5 separate regions of the Homo sapiens genome follow, and all the other regions are linked to region 5. Evidence: promoter capture Hi-C in 16 types of primary human blood cells and fetal thymus (Javierre and others, 2016). All regions are on one chromosome and are shown on one strand. The core of a region is centred on a gene start or on the middle of the fragment in contact, and the rest is flanking DNA. Distances in the headings are between cores, read along the strand shown.

Region 1 (4,737 bases), core at 295-2,794, 1.9 Mb before region 5:
CCCAGCCTCCCTGGTGGGTATGCTGAGCCCGCCTGCTTTCTTCTTCTGGCTGACGACTACCAAGACATGATATACGCAGACACCAACTGTCAAAATGACAATCAGGGCATTATCATCTCTACCAGAATCCTGCCCCTGCACTGGCCAGAGCTGCCTGTTTCTGGGACACAGTAAACATTCCCAAATAACCTCGCCTGGGCAGCCAGCAGGCAGGCCCCAGGCCTAGGACACATATGAGGTGACAGGCCACTGGTGTCACGTCACCCCCAGGAAAGGAAACTTCCGTTCCGTGGCGCCTGGTGGATTTGAAAAGACTCAGAACAGCAGGGTGAGATGCTTGGCCCCAGGCCCCACGTCCAGCTTGGCCTTCGGGGGCCTGGCCACCCACGAGCCTGGGATGTGCTCAACACAGAGTGAGGTTTTCAAAACAAAAGCAAAGCAACTTCATGTGGAAAACCTTCCGGAAAGCAGGACCCAGCCCTCGACACCAGGCCTCATTTGACGCAAACTGCCCACTTACAGACTCCCATTCACCCACTCTCCCACCTACCCCCCAAAATACTAAGCCAGAAAATAGAGGACAACCACGAGTTCAACTCTCCTTTACACGTTTTTACTGGCATAACCCCAGTAGAGCCAGCCCCTTGCAGCTCACTAGGCGGCTGCAACAGGTGCAGCCCAAGCTAAGGCTTGTGGTTCTCCTGGGCTGTTCTAGAATAATGCAACCAAAACCCGAAAGGAAACCGAGGCCTGCAGCACTCACTGCCAAGGCGGCGACCTGACCACTGCGGCCCAACCTGCCCCACCTGTCTGAGTGCGCGGCGCCGGGTCCAGTGCACAGGGTCCGCGGCCTCCGCGACCAAAATAGAAGCCCGCGGGGGCCCGGCCAGAGCCCGGCTGGCCGGAGTGGGGCCTGACCTGGCGGGGCCGGACTGGGCGGGCCGGGGCGCGACGGGGCCTGGCCGAGCGCACCGCCCCCTCCCTGGCCCGGGTATGCAGCGCGCCCCCGCTCCCCCGCGCCCAGAGGAGCCACCTGCGCGCAGGGACTGGGGAGGCAACCGGGAAGGGGAGAAGGCCGGGGAGGGATAGCAGAGAGGTCCAGGGGGTCGGAGGGGTCCGGGTAGGTGTCTCTGGGAGGCGTCCCAGGAGGGGCCCCGGGGGGATCCAGGAAGGAGTCCAGGGGTCCGGGGATCCCAGAAGGAGGCTCCTGCAGGGGTTCGGGGAGGGCCCCGAGGGTCCGGTGAGGAGCCTAGGGGTGTGGAGTGGGGGCTCCGCGGAGGGTCCAGGCCGCCCCCAGCGCACCTGCCCGGCCCCGCGCGCCCTCCCTCCCGCGCCAGCCCGGCCGCTTACCTGCAGCGCGCGTCCTGCCCGCGGCGGCTCCCGGCCGGGCGAGTTCGGGCGCCAGGAATGGCGGCGGCGGCGGCGGCGGCAGCGGCGGGAGGCGGCCGGGCCGGGGAGGGGGTGGCGGGGAGGCCCGGCGGCGGCAGCGGCGGCTGGGATGCTGCGGCGCGCGAGAGCGCTGAGGCCGGCGCGGGGACGGAGTGCGCGGGGCGGGCGCGCAGGCCCCTCCTCCGCTCCCCCTCCCTTCCCGCCTCCTCCCCTTTCCCTTCCCCTTCCTCTCCCCCTTCTTCTCTTCCCTCCTATGGCCCCGCCCCTTTCTTCCTCCTTCCTCCTCCCTCCTCCTCGCCCCTGCTCACCTCCCTCCTTTCCCTCCCCCAACCTTTCTTTTCCTCCCTTCTCTTTTTCCTCCTCTTTCTTCACCTTCGCAACACTCTTCCACCTCTCTCCCCTTCTCCCCACTTTTGCTCCCCACTCCTTCCTCCTCACCTCCCATCTCTCTTGCCTCCCCGCCAGGCCCAGAGGGTTGTCCCTCAGCCCTGGGTTGGTCTCTGCTGAGTCAAGCACCCGTTCCCAGGACCAAGAGGTGCCCTGTCACCCTCTTCCTCACCAGCTCTCAATAGACAAGCTTGCCCCTTCTGGGGTCCTGGATGAACCCCACCCTTTCCAGGCCTCCCCCAAATCCCCCAGTTTTTTTTCACCCCCAGACCCTGGGCCAGCTCTTCTGAGAACCTGACCTGCAGTGTGCGTGAGGCACGTGGCACCCAGAACACTTGGCTGCTGACTTTGGGCAAGAATATTTCACACCAGGCTGCTCCCATTCCCCAGGGGAGGGGCTGGCACCACCTGGAGTCTTGGTTTCCCTGAACCCCCGTGCTAGCCTTTTGCCAAACGTTCATCATTTTCCACTCTGTATGGCAAATGGTCCTCCTGTGAGGCTGCTGGTGAGACTTGTTTGTGACTAGCCCATGGGTTTGGGGATCTGGGGGCCCTCAGAGATGGTGCTGCTCCATCCAGACCTCTTCCCTCTGCCCCCAGGAGAGGTGACAGGGCTCGCACAGTGACTGGCCAGGCTGGGAGGCCTATTGAGGAACACAGTCCTGAGAAGGGGACACAGTTTCTTACGGAACCAGCTAAGATTTCCCCTAAATGTGAGGAGTTGGGGAGCCCCTCTCCAGGCCAGGTGATACCTCCCTGGACTACAGACTGCTGTTGAGGGGCAGGGGCCCTGAGGCTGTTTTCCTGCTGAGCACTGGCTCTGAGAGCCAGAGTTTACAAATGAAGCCAGTCCCAGGCCCAACAGTCACAGAGTTAAAGGCCCAACAGTCTCAGAGTTCCGTTCTAGGGCCTCCTGTGGTTTCTGTGGTTCAGTGCCGGAGCTCTGAGAATAGGGCTTCGGCCCAGCAAAGGCTAAGATGGCAAAGCTGGTGTCAAGCAGGGTGGGGTGGAGCACGCACCCCCTCCTCCCTCTACGGCATGGCAGCCACCACCCTCTTGCTGAAGAATCCAGACCTGGAATCTGATAGACTCCCTTGACTCACAGCTCTGCAGTTTCCAAATAACCTCAGGCCTCAGCAAACCTCTGTACCCTGCAACATGAGGACAGTGTGGTCGTCCTGGAGGGTTTGGGGAGCACGGAGAGAGAATGGCAGGTAAAGCCCACTGCACCGTGTGCTCGGGTTCAGTGCTGGTGACTATTACAGGAAAAACTAGAGAAGTCTTTTCCAAGCTCTTTTCCAATTGTAGGGGTCCATGAATCCATGTTCCACATCCCATTTGGATTGAAACATAATGGGAACGGATTAGGACAGAACTGGTTTAACAGCATTCTATACCCAAGGAGGGATGCACGCTTAGGATCTACACATGCAAGCATTGCACTGATTGGGGTGGGGTGGGGGGACTCTCTTTTATTCCTCACTAGTCAGACACATCTAGAATACCATGCCCTTGCTTGGTGTCTAAGGCAGCCAGCAGTATCCCGTGGGAGGGGAGTTGACCCACCGGGAGTCTTCAGCCTAGAAAATCAATGTGTGGAGCACAAGACAGAAGAACCCCAATATGTGCAAAACTGTCCCGGGAAGAAGGATTACTCTGTGGTGTTATGAAGGGCAGAATGAGGACAGATGGGTGGAAATTAGATGAGAAAGTGGATTCCTGCCTATCGTGGGCGCTTTCTGACAGACCTCACTGTGGAAGAGCCGGCTGCCCCTACAGGAGCGTGCCCTTCACAGCCAGCGTCTAGACAGGCCTGGGGCCACCTTGGGAACACACTGCAGGGAGGGGACCAGCAGCAGAGGGGTATGCTTCTCAACAACTGCTGAATTCTCTCCTGGCTTTTAGACCCACATGCTCAGAATCTAATAGAGGGCAGCCCAGGGCAAAGAAGAGACTTTGCATGGCTGTCCTGGGGCCCACACTTCTGGCATCATGACCTTCCAGAATACTGTCCTCTCTAGCCTGTTTCCTAATGCATACAGAAGAACATGAGAGAATTCAGTAAAAACTCCAAAAAGCTTTCCGCAATGCCCAGGCTGCGAACACAAGGGCTTCTTTGCACCGTGCTTATATAAAATTGCCCCCAAACATGTTTATTGCATTCATGAAGGAGACAGGACTCTTAGTTGTAAGTGATAGAACTTCAGCCCATACTATTGGCTCACTTGCATCCAAAGATGCCCCAAGTACCATTAGAACCGGGACTTGGATGCCATTATTAGGTCTTCCTCTTCCCTCCTCTCTGACCTTCTTCCCTGTTCCCTTCTCTCAGCATGATTGCCTATGTCTCCCAAAGTGACCAAGCTTGCCTTTTTATTCTTGTTTCACACTCTGTCGTGGGACATTTCAAACATAGATATAAAAGTAGCAGGCTGGGTGCAGTGGCTCACGCCTGTAATCCCAACACTTTGGGAGGCTGAGGCAGGCGGATCACCTGAGGTCAGGAGTTCGAGACCAGCCTTGCCAACATGGTGAAACCCCGTCTCTACTAAAAATACAAAAATTAGGTGGGCATGGTGGCACAAACCTGTAATCCCAGCTACTCAGGAGGCTGAGGCAGGAGAATCACTTGAACCCGGGAGGCGGAGGTTGCAGTGAGCCAAGATCATATACCACTGCACTCCAGCTTGGGCGACAGAGCAAAACTCAGTCTCAAAAAATAAAAATAAAAGTAGCTAAATGAACTCCAATCTTGCCTTACCTCTCACCCCCTTACTTTCCCCTCCAATATTAAGTTCAAGCATATCAAAGATCATATTAACCAATCTATTTCCTAGTTTCCCCAGAAATGCCAAGTGTTTGGATACTGAGACCATGCTTTGCAAAGTTTCTCTGCATTTCCCAGCCAGAATGTTGACACCATCTATATGCATATGAGCATAGTAACTGGATTGATAATAG
Region 2 (4,665 bases), core at 1,029-3,528, 2.0 Mb before region 5:
CCCCCGGAAACCGGAGCTACACTGCACCGCCTGCTTTTCCTCTCATTTCCTAATCTAACTTTGGATTTAGAGACAAAGACTTCAGTGCAAGTGTTTAGCATTTTGCTAAGAAAGTTTAGCATAGACTTCTTTGGGTTTTCTTTCTTCTTTTGCCTTTAACTCAGCTTGTCTTGACCACCATTGAGGAAGAATGCCCAGTGCCAGGTAGGGACATGATGGCTCAGAGGGTGATGAGGGTAACCTAGAGCTGCAGACGGGAATGAGTATTCGGCCCAGGGCTCCCTGAATGAGTACCACACTGAGGGGCCTGAGGGACCAAAGGGACGGACGTGTGCCAAGAATCCAAAAGTCCCAGTGATAGAGAAAGGAGCCAGAGAAAGTCTAGGCAGACAGGGGCAGGTCCCTGGCAAAACCCCACATGTGAGCCAAAAAGCCTAAAACCCGCAGCCCAGAGTGAGAACTTCTATCCCTGTTTGCCCGCCGTCTCCCGATTGGTTCTTTCTGAACATCTTTTTACAATCAGATGTTGCCTTTTCCGAAACTACCCACAGCCCACCCTGCCCTCATCCTGTGCCTATAAGAGCCCAGACTCAGTTGATAGAGAAGAGAAGGTGCTGGACTAGAGAGAGGTGACTTGACTTCAGAGGGATGGCTGGATTTTGGAGAAATGGCTTAACTTTGGAGAAGAGCCGGCCAGAGCTGGCCAGACTTCAGGGAAGATTATTTGCTCGTCCTGTTCCCTCTCAAGCTCCCATCTCCGCTGAGAGCCACTTCCAACACTAAACAAAATTCTCTGACTCCACCATCCTTTAAGTGTCCATGCAACCTCATTCTTCTTGGATGCCGGACAAGAGCTCAGGACCCTGAGTGTGTGTACCCAAAAAAGGCTGTCATACTGGCCCTTTGCCCTCACTGGCAGAGGACAGCTGTCCCACACAATGAGAAAAGGGGCCCACTGAGCTTATAACACACCACTGTCCATGGAGAACAGAGATAAGAGAGCACTGTAACGCACCCTCTGGGGCTGCGGGGGTCACAGGCACCCCAACCTGGGTGCCACCCTCAGGGCTCACACAAAGCCTGCTCCTGCTGGCACCCAAAACAGCTGGCCAGATCCCACACTTGCTCACTCATGTGCTCCCTCCTGCAAGAGGTTGAGCACAGCAGGCCGAATAAATGGGGCATCTCTGTCGCAAGTCCAACGAAGGGGTTGAGAAAAACTGCATGACTAGCAACTCCTCCAAGCCTAAGGCCTCTGGGTGCAAGGAGGCAGAACAAACCCTGAATTTCTGCACTATTCACCAGTGGGCTTCACTATTCACCAGTGTTCTGTAGTCAAAGTTTCAGGCCATCTGAATACATTCAATTCATATAAACTTTAAAAAAGTATTTCTCAAAGGCCAAATATGTTTGGCACCTGCTTTGAGAAACCCAATCCTGATACTCAGGAATAGAGGGATGAGCTCCAAGACGCATCACAACAAAACCAAGCCCAGCAGAATGAACAGAGCCTGGAGAAAAGGCTGGCCTGCACTGCAGGCATGCTGGCATTCAGTAGATTAAAACAACCAAGAAATACTTGAATGGGATTCTTTGTAGCTTGCAAAAGAAATTTACCTGTTTTGATTTCCCCTTTTCTGCACATTTTGCTTTTTTGTCTTCTGAGACCTTCCAATACACCTGTTGGGATAGAGTCCATATCAGTGCATATTCTTTTAAAGAGATACTAGTATAAAAATGCACAATTTTAAAAGCACATGATAGAGTTTAGAGCCTAGAGGTTTCTCCTGAGATGATCAATTCTCAGACTGCAAGGGAGGTTCAGAGAGCAGGGGAGCAGCCTGGGGCCTTCATGAACATCCTCACTGTGATCCTTATCCTGAAACCAGTGGAGTCTGGAAGACCAGCTCCAAAAGTTCCATCACTCACCATAAAACAGCAGCAAAAATCAAACTCGTGAAAGTGGAGAAAATTAAATTATTTTTCAAAAACCTAAACCATAAGTATTTTCAAACATCAAAGTGGGCTTTTTTCCATCCATTCAAAGTGACTCTACAGGCCGGGCGCAGTGGCTCACACCTGTGATCCCAGCACTTTGGGAGGCTGAGGCAGGCGGATCACCTGAGGTCAGGAGTTCCAGACCAGCCTGGCCAACATGGTGAAACTCCATCTTTACTAAAAATACAAAAATTATCTGGGAGTGGTGGCGGGCGCCTGTAATCCCAGCTACTCGAGAGGCTGAGGCAGGAGAATCTCTTGAACCCGGGAGGCGAAGGTTGCAGTAAGCCGAGATCGCACCACTGCACTCCAGCCTCGTGTGCCTGGGCAACAGAGTAAGACTCCGTCTCAAAAAAAAAAAAAAAAAAAAAAAAAAGTGACTCTACAGTCCAGTTTAAAAAAAAAAGCCACAATATTCACTGTATCAGTAGAAAGGGAGATTTACGATTCCTTAAACTTGCATGTTGGCAGCAGGAGGAAGTGATGAACTAACACCACCAGCTCAGCTCAGGCACCATCTTAGTAAGATCCATGTTCCTACCACCTCTTCTTTCAAACCAGGGACAATTCGTGATCAGAAACTTCCAGGGGGTGGGGGCCTTAGCCCCTTGCCCTCCAAAGCCCCCACAGAATAGAAAGCAACATAAGACAAAAGGGAAGGTTTCTATATCTATCTCTGCCTCACCTTCCCCAAAATGCCCCCTCTCTCTGTGATGTTCCATAACTGATGCAAAAGAAACCAGTAACAATGTATTTTTCTCCACCAAAAGGCTTGTAGCAGGTGTCAGGACTCAGAGGTTAGGAAGCACACAGGGCTTCTAGGAGGGAGAGTATGAGGAGAGGAACCCCACTTTAGGTTTCTAACTAACTCTGTGAGTTCCTGAACAGCACCCAGGCTGCAGACACAGTACTAAGGGAGTGTCATTTCATAGAAATGGAAGTCCTGATAGGGGCACACAAAAGCGGAACAGAGTCTCATTTAAAATAGCCACTTCCTTCAGCATTTAAAGTACAGATGATTTCGTCAACTCGCATGAAATGCATAAGGACAAGGGAACGTACACTTCAACAGACTCTTGATCACGTTTGCAGGGATTTTCACTGATGCTTGGCGGGGGTCTCTTTATTTTTTTCTTTTAAGTATAAGAGGTCCCCAAGCCTCTCCCCAACCCCGAGGGACCACCATGGTGTCATTAACAGAGCAATGTCTGGCTCTCACTGAACACCTGTGGGGCCAGCACAAACACACTGTCCACAATTCCCCCAAGACCGAGTGTGAGCCTGTGTGGTCAGGAAGGCGCTCAGAGGAAGAGAATTTAACAGACACGCGAAGAGTAAGAGCTGAGTGAGGTGAGACCACCACATCTTTCTGCTCAGAGTGCCTCACAGTGCTGAATACTTTGTTTTTGTTTTTTTGAGACAGGGTCTCGCTCTGTTGCCCAGGCTGGACTGCAGTGGCATGATCTCAGCTCACTGCAGCCTCGACCTCCTGGGCTCAAGTGATCCTCCCACTTCAGACTTCCAAGCACCTCAGACTCCCAAGACCTGAGCCACCACACCTGGCTATTTTTTGCAGTTTTTGTAGAGAAAGGGTTTCGCCATGTTGCCCAGGCTGGTCTCAAACTCTTGAGCTCAAGTAATCCGCCTACCTCGACCTCCCACAGTGTTAGGATAACATGCGTGAGCCACAGCACCCAGCCAAATACTTGTTTTCAGAGCATAATGCTCAGAGCTCATTTATGTGTCAAACAGAAATTGAGAAATAAGCTAGACCCTGGAGATGAAAACAAAAAGAGATCTGGGCAGAAAATGTCCAGCGTGAACCTGGAACAGATTCCAGAGAGCAAGAAAACTAACCCCACACCGCGAGGTCTCAGGAGCCAACCCAAACAGGCTGCTGTTGACCATGGATGCGACGATTTGAGCATGAGGTAGGTGTTTCACTGTGATGGGTCAAAGAAGAGCAAATATCTTTAAATCTATGACTTCATTGTGACACTAAAAATCAATCAAAAAACTCACTCTTGCCCTTCAGAGGGGAAACTGACTCATTAACTCATTATTCTGAAAACTGGTAAATAAAGGCAAAGATTCCAAGCATCGATTCTGCATTTCCCAAAGGAAATGGGACCTCTACGGACCAAAATAGCTGGTGATGGGCACTTCCCCTTTTATACGATTTCCAGCTAACAAGTAGAGAAGGAGAGGTAGAATCAGAACATTGCGTTTTGCAATCTTTGATGAGAAGAGCATCTAGACTTCGCTGGTCAAAGGCCACCGAGACTGAGGAGGAGGAACACCTGCCTCCATGGAGAAGCCCGCCTCACAGCCCTGAGAGGGATGAGCCTGGATCTGACACCCAGCTGGGGATGTGAAGACAGAGGTGCATGCTAAAGACACCATGAGTGGGGCTGGGTGTGGTGGCACATACTTACAGTCCCAGCTACTCAGGAGGCTGAGGCAAGAGGATCACTTGAGCCCAGGAGTTTGAGGCTGCAGTGAGCTACAATCAAATTTTAAATTCGGTTTGATTTTTTAAAATGTTTAAAGACACCGAGGAATCAGGAGCAATGTGAAGAGTGGGACATGGGATGGGCTGTGCAGAGTAGCTTTCTCAGGAAGGAAACCGAGGCTGGCTCCTAGAAGCGGAGACTGAATGGACAGGGT
Region 3 (4,570 bases), core at 1,355-3,854, 1.8 Mb before region 5:
TGGAATGAGCAGTACCCATCAGGGAGAGCAGTAGGTCTCTCTGCATTGCTCCATATTAGTTATAAAGGGAGATGTCCATATACATTTTCTGACATAAACGGAGTGAGGAATTCTTGTCACATTGCATATTCACGACATATGTTGGAGAAAATATTCTACCTCCTTCCCTGCTAGAATTCATTCCGTTTACCCACTCTCTTATTTAGAGACTGCCTGGCACCAGCTGAGAGCCTGACACAGTGCTGGTGTGGCCAGGTCCACCCCCGCCATGGCCCAGCAGGTCCCTCTCCTTGCCGCATCCACCTCTTTCCATCTTTCCTCCTTCCCTTTCCTGGGTCTGGCCTGTCATTTGCCAGTGGTCCCCAGACCCTTGAAGCAGGGATCTTTGTCTCTTTGTACAGAGGGGATTCATTCCCAGCTGGAATGAGGCAGACACTGTCCTTGCTCATCCAGCCCCCTTCTCATGGGCACAGTGTAAGAGGCTGATCCAAGGCTCTGTAAGCAACTCAAAGACCTGGCAGGACATCCTTGTGATGAAGGTTGTTACCACCACTGTACAGGAGAGGAAAGAGGCAGGAAGCACCTGGGTGATCCAAGACTCTCCCCTTAGGGCATATTGGCCCTAGGTGGCCTGGTGGTGGCCTCCTGGTAGGCGCTGAAGGGTGGGGCAGGGAGTTGCTCAAAGCCAGGGGCCAGCAGGAGCAGAGGCGAGCTGGAAAATAGCAGAGATGGATGGAGCTGGGCAAAGGAGAGGATGGGGGAGCTGCATGGGTCCATGACACCTGCTCTGACAGGGTTGCCATCCTCTTCCTCATTGAACTTAGTGCCTGTTGCATCCTAGAGCAAGGCAGGGGCCGGGACGCACATACCTCCATGAGGAGGGTGAGTCTCTCCAGGTTACTTAAATCAATTATCCTGGGGAAGTGCAAGAGCGGTGGGATCCAGCCTGAGAAGACAAGGGGAAGGCTGGGTGGAGCCGTCTGGTTCAACCACCCTGAGCTGGGTCATCTGTCATGGAAACCGAGAGTGAATAGAGCAGCCCACTGTCCTCTCGGCCATGAACTATTTCTTACAGTAGACTCTTCAGTAAAATGGAAATGCACCATCCAGGTTCTCTTCTGGGCTGTTTTTTAAAAAATTAATATTACGGTTTAATGTGGATTCAGGGGAACTAGTAAACATTTCCCATCTATTCAAAATATCAGGGAAGGATGTGAATATATATGCTCAACAGCTCCTGATAAGCGAAAGAGCCTGGGTTTGCTGCTGAGTTTTCTCCAGTGCTAACTGAGCACATACACTAGTGACCACAGACACCCTGCTCTGATGACCTCCGACATCCTCCTGCAAAACACACTCACTGATTCCAAAGGGCAGAATAGCGACTTTAGGCTGGAGAAACCTGGCAGACACCATCTTGGTCAAATGATCATCATCCCATGGCAATCAATAACCAGAGGACACCCCATGACAATCAAGAACCAGAAGACAAATCAAAGCACATGATCCTGATATGACACACCAAGAAGGACACAGCATCACCACTGTGATGGTCCAGTTAATGGTTTATCACCTGAATTGAATCAGGAGGAAACAGCAGATAAGCTAGCCAAACCCCAGCAGTGTGCGGGGTGGAGGTGGAGAGGAGTCTGTAACATAACAGGCCTGAAATATTAAAAAGATATCAATGCCATGAAATGTTACTGTCACAAAGCAAAACTCAGGAATGGTTTTGGATTCAGGGAGATGACAGAGATGTGACTACTGAATGGACCTGTGATCCTGGACTTTCTTTTGCTACAGAGGACATCACTGAAACAACTGACAAAAATCTCAGTATGGTTTGTAGATTAGGTAATTATATCAATATTAATTTCCTGAATTTCATCATTTTACTACAGTTGATAGATTTAGGATAATATTCTTGTTTTTAGGCAATACACATTGAAGCATTTAATGGAAAAGAGGCAACATGTCTGTATCTTACCCTCAACTGGTTCGGAAAATAATATATATACTTGAAGGAGAGAGACAAAGCTGAAACAAATATAGTAAAATGGGGGAATCTGGGTGAAAGGTACATGGGAATACTTTGTTTTACTATTTCTATAATTTTCCTATGTTTGAAACTTTATCAAAATTAAAAAATTTAAAAATACCTCCAAAATACAGAGGCTTAAGACAGAAGATTGTGTCTTGTCTACTGAACACAACAGTGTGGAGTGTACAGGCTAGCAAGGAGGCTCGGCTCCACACAGCCATGCAGGACCCCAGACCCCTTCCCTTGTGACTGCATAATTGAGTCACAACAGCAAGGAGGAGAAGGAAGCTAGTTGGCCAGCTACAAACTTCTGTTTGAGCAAGGAATGTAGAGGAACTGGGGCCCAAGACCACCCCATGCAGCAAGGGAGACTGGGAATGCAGTCTCTGGCTGGGAGTCCCTGTGCAAAGTCAAAACGCCATTACTGTGGATCATCAGAGAGCAGACCCGAGGGCTCGTGAGCAGTCTGCCCCCTCACCGGTTCTCAGATTCAGAGGTAATCTGAAGAGTGGCCATGACCGTGATAAGCCTCAAGGTTCTGCAACTAGTCTATATTTCTCACATCTGCCCTTGCCTGACAGCGGCTTCCTGTGGGGGCCTCACACCATCCTGCCCCTTAGATTCTGAAACAGCGCCTCCCATCCACCCTATACCTTGCACCTTTTGGCGAATGAATGACCACACACTTATGTGCATGCATGCATGCATTACCCTGGGCTCTTGTTAAAAGGCAGATTCTGATTCTGTGAGGCTAATTAGCTCCCAGGGGAAGCTGAGGCTGCTGGCCCTGGATGCACTGGGCAGCAGAGGTCTATGGGCATCTTCAGGGTGCACCTGCGTGCTTTGGAGATGAAGGAGCTGTGACTCCTGTTCCTTTTGAGAGGGCAACGCTGGGAGGTGTTGGGTGCATGGGAAATGCACCAGCAAGTGGGACTCACCTTCCCTGGGGTGGATGTCATGCCGCATATGGGATTTCACCCGTGGCAGGCTGTTCATGTCGGGTGTTGCTGAAGAGATTGGTAAATTAGGCAGAGTTTTGGAGGAAGTTACCTTGCAGGTCCCTCCCAAGTTTAAATTTGCCTGTGGGTTTGTGAGTAAGAAAAAATAACCTATATACTTCACATTGTGTGGCTGATGAGGGGAATTCAGAACTGAAGACCATGGGTGATTCAGAGAATTCCTGATTTTGTAAGAAAAGCAGGGTATACACCCTGACTGATCCTCCCAAGTACAGCTGAGTTGCACAGTAGGCTGTGCCCCAGGGTAGCTGTTTAGCTGTAAGCCAATGTTCTGCCTGTGGTGTGGCCCAATGAACCTGAGGCTGGAGGCCTGGCACATGCTGGCTAGAATCCCAGCTCCACCATTGGCTGTGTGACCTTGGGCATGTCGTTAAACTCCCTGAAACTGAGTACTCCTATCTGTGAAGTGGGCATGGGTATTACAGCTGACACAGGAACGCTCCCTGATGGTGGGGTCTCTTTTCCTTGTTGATGGTGGTTCACACTGCTCTGTGACTACCAAACCCTACTGCACCATCCTCTGAGCCGGCCTGACTTCTCGGGGGCTGCCCAGCTGTGGCACAGTGGGGTCTGAGCCCACTGTTACCAGGGTCTGCTGCATCTGGATATTAACCTTAATGTGTGATGAGAGCCCATGGGCTCACCAGAAACACGCTTACAGGGCAGCACTTGCAGGCCTGGAAGGGTTTAGGCCAGCTGAGGTGTTAGAAGCTACTTTTTAGGGCTGGAAGCGATATTCTCTTTGACCGCAAGATGTCACCCTGCAACCATGACATTGGGACAGGCACTGTTGGATTCAGGGTTCCTGAGGAGAACCAAAAATGGTTTTGAAACCTCATTTTCACCTGGATGCTCTCCTTGTCCTTGGTGGTCAAATGGTTTGTTCTAAAGGCTCGAGAAATGGTTTCACAGTGAAATTCATCTGTTCCCTCTTGCTTCAGAGAGGAGCTCAGAACACCCAGCTTTGCCACCTCCTGGCTGTGTGACCTTGAGCAAGTTGTTCAACCTCTCTGTGCCCAAGATTCCTCATGCCTAAAATGGTGATAATAGCACCTACATAACGAGTTTGTTATGAGAATTAAACAATGTTTTCAAAGTGCTTGGAACAGTGCTTGGTGCACAGCAAGTCCTGGAAAAGTCTAGTAAATAAAATAACAACAATACTACTAATAGTGTACTCAAGGAGTGCCACACCCTTCTCAAACAGACAAAATTCAAACACTGAAAAATTAAATAATACCCTACAGTCTCAAGCACAGGTTGAGTATATTACATGTTTTGAAATTTTAGAATTCCCTGCTGTGTTATGTAGGCAATGGAAACAATTTTCATAATCTATTACTGTAATTCATTTCTGGAAAACAGACATTTTCAACAAGAAGGGAGTGGAAGATAATTTCTTCCATTGCTGCTTGCCTCAGTGTGCGCAGAGGATCCCCAAGGGTCCTGTGAACCGCATTTGTAAGGAAAGGTGCCGTCCAGGGTGTTTGGTTCTGACTTGCCGGCTGGC
Region 4 (4,459 bases), core at 1,246-3,745, 1.7 Mb before region 5:
CATAGCGCGGAAAGAAGTCATCTTCCTTTCCGGCCATTCTCTTTTTCTCTACACACGAGCCCTGCAATAGGACTCAGTGGCTGCCGCCTTCAGTCTGGGCTGGGCCACTCCTGCTCTCGAGGGTGGAACACTGAGATCTAAGGGCCTCTCCCTGTCATGATCCCTGTTTATCCTTCGTTGTGCTCAACACGATGTTTGTCATTACTAAAGCGCTCTTAAAATTGCATCTGCACGTCTGAATAGCCTGCTAATGCAGAGCTGCCCTTTGCATTCAACACAGGAACCTGCTTCTGCCTGGCTCTAGGACAACACTTCTTGCTGGGCTCCTGCCAAGTGCGGCTGGGCTGGGCCTGGAGCGACCAATCCACTGATCCACCAATCCGGAGGGCAGCCCAGGAGGAGCGGGATCTTAGTGGATGGACGCCCTGCCTGTCTGTGGAATGGCTTCTTCCTGGGGCAACCCCGAGAACAAGAGGGAAAACAGCCTCTCCCCCTCGCCTCCTGCCCTCCTGCAGGCAGCCACCTCCTCAGCTAATTGAAAACAAAAAGGGACGCAGTTGTGAAATTCAGCCCCCAGCGCCATCATCATCTCCTGCGGGCTCAGGGGGCTCCTCACTGTGTTTATTTACAAATCAGCACATGTTGTTTTGGCCACGGCAGCAGACAGTGACCCCAGAGAGGGAGGTCCAGAGCACTACACAAATTGCACAACACAAGCAGGTCATCTGTCCCCTTTGCTGAAGATTCCTAAGAAAACAGAGGCAGCTGACTCTCAGGCCATCTGGAAGCCACCCTCAGGGGCCGAGCGCTCGGGGGCGTGTACGCCAGCCTTGGGGGTGCTATCCGGACACCAACAATGTCACTGCTGCTGCCAGCCTCAGTTTCTCCATCTGTGAAGGGCGCATGGTTGTGGTGGTGGGGCGGGGGGTGGTGGTCAGCATGCAGTGATTAGCAGCCACCTGGGGTACTCTACCGGGCAGGCGTCTGTGCTGTGTCCTATAGTTTCAGCCGCACGTTCTCTCATTTTACAGATGGTAGAGCAGCTGGGTGGCTGCCGATTCTCGCCCTGCCCATGGCTGCCCTGGCCTGTGGCCGAGGCTGTGATGAAGGGCAGCCTGTTCTGTGCGACGCAGTTAAGCAAGGTGTCCGGTGGGCTGCATTGTGACCGGGTCAGCCAGGCCCTCCTCTTTGTCTTGCTTCTGCTGGCAGAGCTCACAGCGCAGTTTCTGCATGGAGGCTGCCGGAGTTGCTTCCTGCTCCGTGCTCCCACACCGTTCTTCAGCTGACCAAGTAGTGACAGCAGGACTCCAGGGTTCTGTCCCTGTGCGGCAAAGCACACACTTTCAGTGCTGCGGTTGATGCTTGAGACGCTCAGTGGGAGGTCATTGCTTGGACTAGGACTACAAGTCCAAGCACAAACGTCCCCCTGAGGTGTCACCTGGGGTGTTAGGAGTGGGGGATGGGAAGAGGAACAATACTGGGATGGGGTTCTTGAGGAGACTTTCGAAAGGATCTAAGAGGAACTGACCTCTCCACCTCCCCCAGACTGTGCACAAAGAAAATGGGCCCAAGAATCCCCAGAACTGGGCTCCGAAATCCTCACTGTCTCCTTGCTGGTCACCAGCAATTGCTGTGACTCACTCTCCTGGTGCTTCTGTGGGCCATCTGGGCACCTTGGGGAAGTCCCAGGGATCCCCAACAGCACTCCTTTCTCCCTGTATGTTCTATCCCACTGCCTTCCCAGGCGGGCCTGGAGGGAAGAGCAGTGGCCAGGTGTCTTCAGGGTCCTGCAGGGCTGATGGGAGTGGTTTCTGTGGGTACTGTGGCTCTCCTGTGTGGGTTTCCTGCCCTGGGCTCTGTGTGTGGGCCTTGATGGGCACTGGGCTGTTCTTCTACCTTGTGGCACCTGGCCCTGTAGAGATGACAATTTCTGAAACAGGAGCATTTCCTCTGAATTCCAAGGAACTTTGCTCAAGGGCCAACTTTGCCTTATGCAGGCTGGAGCCTGAATGCTCGCTCTGCTACCAGCTGTGTGACCTTGTGAAAAGTCCTTAACTTCTCTGGGCCTTACTTTCTCATCGGGATAATATTACAAAAGGCTGCTTGAGAAATGGGATGCTTTCAGAGATAACATAGAATGAAAGCACCGGGCACAGTAAAATTCAACTGCTATTAGTTCCTTTCTCCCTTATTCAAGAAGGAAGGCAGATGAAAGCAGATTTCAGGAATGGCAGCTTGGAGAAGAGGAGAGGGAGTGGGGGTCTAGAAGAGGAGAGGCAGTAGGGGCTATGATAATCCTCTGACATTGGCTGAGAGCCAGCAGTAAGAAAGAGAAACAAGCTGTCCTTCATGTACCCACTGGCTTCTTCCTTGCACCCTCGGGTGCCGAGCTGAGCTGCAGACACCCAGACCTGACAGCCCTTCCTCCAGAGCTGGCGGTCCAGGTGGGGAGTGACATTTGGCTGATTTCTGATTTTGAAACACAGAAACCAGGAGAGTTGAGTTAAACCAGGTTTACCAATGTGAGTGGCTTATTGGCTATAGGTGCCCCAGCCAGGTATGGAAGTCCAGAGCTGGAGGGTGTGTGAGCTCCCTGAATGCAGGGCCAGCCCTGGCAGGCGAGCACACAGCTAATGGTAATGGATGGCATAGGAATACGGAGCCAAGGTTTCTGGCAAGAAAACAATGAAAAATGCACTATCTCTGAATTTTTCTCTGGGACTCAGTTGAATTTTAGTGGTCATGACCAGAAATGAAATTCAACCAGTTGACTGATATTTTTAGAAATGCCTCAGGCTTTATCATCTCAACTCTGGGGAGTGAGTATCCCAGAAATCTTGGGAGTGTGGGTCACAGCACCTGAATGTTAGTCCTTTACACCTGTAACATCAGAATTATGGATTCCTGGGTTCCCCTTGCAGAGATTCTAGTTGGGTTGGAGCCTGGGAATCTGTATAAAAATACCTCCCCAGATTTGGAACCACTACCATAGACAATTAAGCAAAGAATGAGGTAAGGCATTCTTTTCTCCAAAATGTAATTTTCTGGGGCCCTGCTAGAGATGTGTCACCTTTCTAGGCCTCTTCTCTGGTGGGAGCTCAGATCCTCCTGAGAAGGGCACGAATGAGAGAGACTCTGACCTTTCCCTCTGTCCTTTGCTCTAAAAACACAGCCCCGTTTAACCGGACAGAGGATGACTTTCTTCTCTGGAGTGCTCTGGGTCACGCTTGGGGACACATGAAGGATACGCCCTCCCTTTCAGGCTCCCATCGCACGTTGAACCTGGCTTGTGAACACAGCCCTCTGGGACACTACTAGGAACAAAGTGTTCCGGATGCTGCAGAAGCTCAGCTGCCACCTGGAAAACCTGTTTGGCCACTTTAGGTCCAGATGACGGGAGCCAGTCCGGCTCAGGAGAACAGAGCTGGCCCAGTAACACCTCGCTTCCTCCCTGCTGCAGAGACCTGGGAGGGCCCTGCCCAGCACAGCACACTGGAGTGGCCCTGCGGCAGCATCTGGGCTGCTGTACCCATGGTGCCTCCCAGCCCGAGGGGCTCCCGGCAGCTCTGGAGACTCCTGCTGTCACGTCACCTGGCCCCTCACCATCACCATCCTCATCTCTCTTGGGTGGGTATGTCCGCACCATTCCTAGCCTCATTTATTTATTTATTTATTTTTGAGACAGGGTCTTGCTCTGTCACCCAGGCTGGAGTGCAGTGGCACCATCTCGGCTTACTGCAACCTCCGCCTCCAGGGGCTCAAGTGATCCTTCCACCTTAGCCTCCTGAGTAGCTGGGACCACAGGTGCACACCACCATGAGCAGCTAATTGCATTTTTGGTAGAGATGGGGTTTCTCCATGTTGCCCATGGCTGGTCTCGAACACCTGAGCTCAAGTGATCTGCCTCCCTTAGCCTCCCAAAGTGCTGGGATTACAGGCGTGCACCACTGCACCTGGCCTCATTTAAAGACTGAGAAAACCAGATCCCAAGAAATTTGCTCACTATTGAGGATAGCTGTCAGCAGACACCAGATTTGGGCATCGAGTTAGCAAGCTCTGGCCGTGTGCTTGAGTACTAGCCCAAAAAACATCCCCAGAGTCATTTGTAGAATGAGTTCTTCTTACTTACCCTTATTAAAAGACTTAAATGTGCATCAATAGTTCCCACAAAAGCCTAGTGTTACTGTTTTAAATACTGAGTTCGTGAGCCAGTCAAAGATTGGGGCTTTCGCTGGTTCATTAGCTTGTTTCATGTTTGGAAGGAGACCCACGTTTATGTCCAGAATGTGATATTCTGTCTATGTGCTGATCTTAGTTTGGAAGTGGTTTGAATAAAGCCAGAAATGCCAGCATATTTAGTTATGAATCCTGGTTTGCAAAGGTGCTGACTTTGGTTGTCCACAAGATCATTGGCCCCATAGCTTTACCTAACCGTCTTACACAACTGTGGTCTTCTCTG
Region 5 (5,105 bases), core at 322-2,821:
CTATTCTGCTTATGCCACACTTGCCTTATGTTACGTCCCAAATACACCACACATGTTCACATCTCCATGCCTTTGACCATGTTCTTGTCTCTGTCTGGAATAATAAGTAAGGAATAAAGTCATTCATCACACTCCTGAAGCACTGCTACGTGCTAGTGGCAATTTACATTAACAATCTCATCTCATCTTCATAACAAACCTATAAAGTTGGTATTGTTTTTCCTGTTTTACACGTGAGATAAGTCTGCCCAAGAACCCTCACAAATGGCAAAATCCACTGCCTATTAAAGAATGCCTTGGAACCCCTTTCAAATGGCGAAACCCTGCAGGTATTACAGCCCTTTCCTCTTACCATGCCTTGAAAGTTCACACAGCCTACTAATAACCAGGATCTGCTTCACTACACTAAAACCAATCACGACTTACACGCTTTTCACTTCTGCTTAACAGATTATAGGTGCTCAACAAATGCATGTCAAAATTAAAACACTGGTCCTCTGGCTTAACCCGGAGGTTAAGGGTGGAAACTGCTATTCCACCCTTCACGACCCTTTTAGCTTTTCCCTGCACTGCCAGTGAAAGGAACTGAGCTGTAACAGTATTCCCTAGGATTGTCAGCCTCCTTCAAAGCCTTCAAAGCTCTGTATTGTATTGCTAATGATGTCTCCTCCCGTAGAAGGTAGCTCAAGGGCAAGATCCATACCATCCACATTCTTATCGCCAGAGCTGAGGAAAATAAAAAGTGCTCAAAATTGTTTAAATGAAGTGGAACAGTCCCTCAAGACTAACTTTCTAAGAGAAAATGAACAAGAGGAAAAATTGTTCCAGCTGAGCAGCTTCAAATTTAAGATTCTCCGTAATAATAAAAGGCAGTTTCACCGCAGCTTTTACAACTCCACCACTAATAGCTGAGTTTACAGAAAGCCATTACACAGCAACAATAAAGCCTGGTAGCAAGGATTAAATCCCCAGGGTATATATTGACCTTGGCTTGTCTGGAGCGGAGGGCGTAAGCTGCACTTCTGTTTGCCGCGCTGAATGCGGTCACTTTACAGGTAAGCTGCTCGGGGGTACACGTTTAGGTTATTAAAAGCAAGAAATAGGTGCACAAGGAAGCGGCCACGCTGGGTGAGTAGGGAGGTGAGAAAGGGGAGGGACCCAGGTTCGGTGCGCCTGCCTGACCTCGACCCCGCGTCCTGCCGGCGGACGCTGCACCTTATGCCCGTCCTGAGAGCGAGCGGCCGCCCGCTGCCCCGCGCCTGCCCAGCGTTCGCACCTCACCTCGGTTCTCCTCCTCCAGGTGCCGCACCCGCAGCTCGTCCTCCGTCTTCATCTCAGAGCTGTAGCCCCTTTTCGGGGCGGGACCCCCGGCCGCAGGTACCCAGCCCTGGGCCCAGATCGCCGGGCCCGCTCGCCGGCCTGCCAACGAGCCGGGCAGCCTCAACCCCGGGCAGAGCCACGCACTGCAAGCGGCCACCAGGCGGGCGCCGCCAGCATGCAGGGATCCCAAGGCCCCAGGTGCCGCCGCCACCGCGGCCGCCATGTTGTCTGTTTACGGCGTGGACCTGCGACGGCCGCTCCGCCCCCGCCCGGCGCCGACCTGCCGCGCGCACGCGCACGGCGTCCGGACCCGCCGCCTCGCTCCGGCTTGGCCCCGCCCTCCGGAGCCGTGTTCCCGCCCCTCACTGCCCCGCCGAAGCCCGGTGACCCGAGGCCTTGCCCCATTCTCCAAGCGAGATTGGATGGTTTGTCCAATACAAAAGGAAAGAAAGTAGTTTTCCAAGGTTATGGAATAATTCAGGGAAGACTTTTCTATAAGAACCACCCGGAGGGAATTATCTCCCCGTACTCCCTGGACCATGCCCTGCGGTCCTGTGTTAAGTAAGCTGCAAAAGTGAACAAAAAAGTTTTGTCTCCTCAAGTTGGCTGAAAGTGTGGCAGCCCATCGTTGGTCACTGCCTTACTTATGGATCTCAGGTTGTTGGTTTAGCGTCCCTGATAAGCATAAATGATGTTTACTACGTGGCGTTCAGGAAAAGGATGAGAACAGCAAACAGGCAAAGGAGTTCTTTCTCCAGCCCACCCACTCGTACCGATGTCCCATGGCCCTTCCTGGACGGAAAGAGTCTTACAGGGGTTCAAACAAGCCATACGCTGAGATGGGATTTAGAGTATGTAGCTCTTCCAGAAACTCGGGATATCAATTTAGTGTGTAGGTACTCATCAAAGCACGTTGCAGTATAATTAATGCTACCTAGCTTTTATCAGATCTCTAATGGGAAAGCTTGCATTTAAGAATACTGGGCAGGGGGCGGTGGCTCACGCCTGTAATCCAAGCACTTTGGGAGGCCGAGGCAGGTGGATCACCTGAGGTCAGGAGTTTGAGACCAGCCGGGCCAACGTGGTGAAACCCTGTCTCTACTAAAAATACAAAATTAGCCAGGTGTGGCGGCACACGCCTGTAATCCCAGCTACTCGGGAGGCTGAGACAGGAGAATTGCTTGAACCCGGGAGGCGGAGGTTGCCCTGAGCTGAGACTGCACCATTGCACTCCAGTCCAGGCAACAAGAGTGAAACTCTGTCTCAAAAAAAAAAAAAAAAAAAAAAAAGAATACTGTTTGAAAAGTGTGCTGCTATGAGCATACGTCTAGTGCCACAGAAATTTCTTGTATTTTTTAGTCCTAAGCAAAACATCCTTCATTATGTCCTCAACTTTTATCCAATGTAGAAACAAAAAGTAGACTGAATTCCATTACTGCATCTGCTGTAAAATGATGTTGAAGGCACTTTTATTTTTATTTTTATTTTTTATTTTTTGACAGGTTCTGGCTCTGTCGGCCAGGCTGGAGTGCAGTGGTGTGATCGCCTCTCGCTGCAACCTCTGCATCTCAGGCTCAAATGATCCTCCCACCTCAGCCTCCTGAGTAGCTGGGATCACAGGCACACACCACCACACCTGGGTAATTTTTGTATTTTTAGTAGAGATGGGTGTTTCTATGTTGGCCAGGCTGGTCTTGAACACCTGACATCAAGTGATCCACCCAACTTGACCTCCCAGAATGCTGGGATTACAGGTGTGAGCCACCATGCACAGCCCACTTTTTATTCTATCTTTTGTAAAGTTCCATGCAGGAAAATTTTCCTGAAGTTTACTACAAGGAAAACTTTGCTTCCTTTGTATCTTTCCTCTTTTCTGATAATGATGTACATGTTGACTGCTGGGTGTTGTGATTTTTATTGTTATGGTTTCTTTCTAATTTGGTCTTGTGGTCACCAGAGGGAGGGTAAATCTGGAGGTGACAGGGAGTTCAGCCAGTGGAAGGGGGTCAAGGAAGGGGCACTTGTGGAGCTAAAGCCTCTGTTGGGGTCCAGCGTGTTACCCAAGCAGTTTCCCATGGAAGTTCTAATTGGTGAGTTTAGAACAAGCAGGCACAAGTTCCATGGAGTCACCCTGTCACTGTGAGGTGGTCACTGGAGCCCATCTACACAGTCCATGTGGGTTATGGAGGTCAACAGGTGAGTCAAGCAGGCTGCATTTACCTGTCCCATAGGGAGATGGTCACCAGGAAGCAGTTGCATTAAGCAGATATCTGGATGGATCACATTGAAGAACTGGGAGGAAGCAGAGAACTGGAAACTGTATCAAAGGTGATTGAGCCCTGCTTCTCATATGAGAAAGTTAAACATATTCAAAATGGATACCAAGGCAAAATAAAATTATGAGAATTACTGTACTAGAGATGGCAGCGGCTGCTCCAGACGGCCTACTGCTGCAGCAGGGAGGCATGGCCAGGGCTGCACGCTCTCTGGCGGGAGCCAGGGACAAGCGGGAGACCCACCCCTTCTGAGTTGGGGTGGGAACTCCCTGGTTGCCTCTGCAGCACAGCTGCAGACTGGGGCCTCCTGCTCCACAGAGCAGGCAGAAGCACCACCCAAGGTGTGGCTGCAGATCTGAGCCTCCCTGTGCTCTTAGGGGGCCAGGAGCAGGCAGGAGCCCTGCCCTCCCCGAGGGCAGCTGTAGCCACCCAAACCACGGCTGCAGCCCCAGGCATCCCTGCACTCTTGGGGGCCCAGGAAGGCCCTGCATGCCCTCACAGGCTCAGAAATGCCTGCTCCTGCTGCCTGGCTTCTCCCTGCTGTTGGCACCTGCTCCATTCTTGGAGCAAAGTTGAGGCTGAACCCAGGCACCATGAATGGCAGTGGGAGGCAGACAGACTCCTGGGCAGAAGGGGGTGGGTCCCCAGTGAGGCCCCAGCTTCTGGCCAAGGAGGGCCTGAAGGCTGGGGGTTGGGCTGCCAGCCCCATGAACCAGAGTGGGAACTTGTGGTGCCTTTTCCGAGCCTGCCCATGGCTGCCCATGGACCAATCAGCGGCAGGCACTTGCTCCCCTCTGAGGCCCATAAAATCCCCAACTCAGCCAGAGCTGAGCAGATGATGGGACAACCAGCTGCAGAGAGGAGCTACCCTCTCAGCTGAGAGCTTCAGAGACTTGCAGAGATGTCAGAACTACCAGCTTCAGAGAGGAGTGACCCTCTCCAGGGCCTCCTCTCTGCTAGGAGCTGGGCAGATGTTAGGACAACCAGCTGCAGAGAGGAGCTACCCTCTCCAGGGCCTCCTCTCTCCTAGGAGCTGGGCAGACTTCAGGACACCCTGCCTACAGAGAGGAGCTACCCACTGCGGGTCTCCTCCGAGCTGTTTTAATGCTCAATAAAGCTTCTCTTTGTCTTGTTCACCCTCCACTTGTCTGCATACCTCATTCTTCCTGGACCCAGGACAAGAACTCTGGCAAAGGTGCCACCAGCCACAGAGGTTTCTGGCCAGGAAATCGACACCTCAAAGGTTCCGTAACACTAGGAAACTCACAATTGTATTTACAGATCAACCATTGCAATTATTGCAATTATATAATTACTGTTTATTAATATTGGTCTCCAGTTGTTTTGATATCTTTATGTCGGTTCATCAATAGATGGTAAATTTAGAGAAAGCAGTTATACAGAGCTCCTGACAGTGCTATTTAAAATAATATAACTTCAGATAATACTGATAATTGACTAGGACAGCTGCAGAAAGATAATCATAGATTGTTTGGGTTATAGAAGAAA

What was found. Contacts are between HindIII fragments. The CHiCAGO score rates a contact against its expected background, and 5 or more counts as called.
Region 1: a contact is called between the fragment with the promoter of SEMA4D here and the fragment with the promoter of AUH in region 5, in 2 of 17 cell types (neutrophils and total CD8 T cells). The highest score is 9.1, in neutrophils.
Region 2: a fragment that was not itself captured here is called in contact with the fragment with the promoter of AUH in region 5 in 1 of 17 cell types (naive CD8 T cells); the score reaches 5.3 in naive CD8 T cells.
Region 3: a fragment that was not itself captured here is called in contact with the fragment with the promoter of AUH in region 5 in 1 of 17 cell types (neutrophils); the score reaches 8.2 in neutrophils.
Region 4: a fragment that was not itself captured here is called in contact with the fragment with the promoter of AUH in region 5 in 1 of 17 cell types (neutrophils); the score reaches 5.3 in neutrophils.

What each region holds. Positions count from the first base shown.
Region 1 is chr9:89,496,569-89,501,305 of GRCh38, forward strand. SEMA4D (semaphorin 4D) reads right to left here and starts at 1,545. Exons shown (of 16, transcript NM_001371194.2): 1 at 1,351-1,545. RefSeq lists silencers at 865-1,014, 1,445-1,634. The HindIII fragment of the contact is 2,547 bases long and covers 1-1,964 here.
Region 2 is chr9:89,397,659-89,402,323 of GRCh38, forward strand. It overlaps SEMA4D (semaphorin 4D), which reads right to left. Exons shown (of 16, transcript NM_001371194.2): 5 at 1,618-1,680. Among named protein-coding and RNA genes, the nearest start is that of SECISBP2, 81 kb to the left of the region's middle. The HindIII fragment of the contact is 8,794 bases long and covers 1-4,665 here.
Region 3 is chr9:89,594,489-89,599,058 of GRCh38, forward strand. LOC105376139 (a long non-coding RNA gene) reads right to left here. Exons shown (of 2, transcript XR_930105.3): 2 at 4,308-4,570. Among named protein-coding and RNA genes, the nearest start is that of GADD45G, 8.2 kb to the right of the region's middle. The HindIII fragment of the contact is 9,165 bases long and covers 1-4,570 here.
Region 4 is chr9:89,661,756-89,666,214 of GRCh38, forward strand. LINC03062 (long intergenic non-protein coding RNA 3062) reads left to right here. Exons shown (of 6, transcript NR_024280.1): 2 at 3,173-3,627. Among named protein-coding and RNA genes, the nearest start is that of LINC03062, 24 kb to the left of the region's middle. RefSeq lists enhancers at 18-554, 239-533, 555-1,092, 1,093-1,629. The HindIII fragment of the contact is 5,920 bases long and covers 1-4,459 here.
Region 5 is chr9:91,360,347-91,365,451 of GRCh38, forward strand. AUH (AU RNA binding methylglutaconyl-CoA hydratase) reads right to left here and starts at 1,572. Exons shown (of 10, transcript NM_001698.3): 1 at 1,282-1,572. The coding sequence starts at 1,543. RefSeq lists silencers at 1,303-1,742, 4,487-4,687. The HindIII fragment of the contact is 2,357 bases long and covers 1-2,282 here.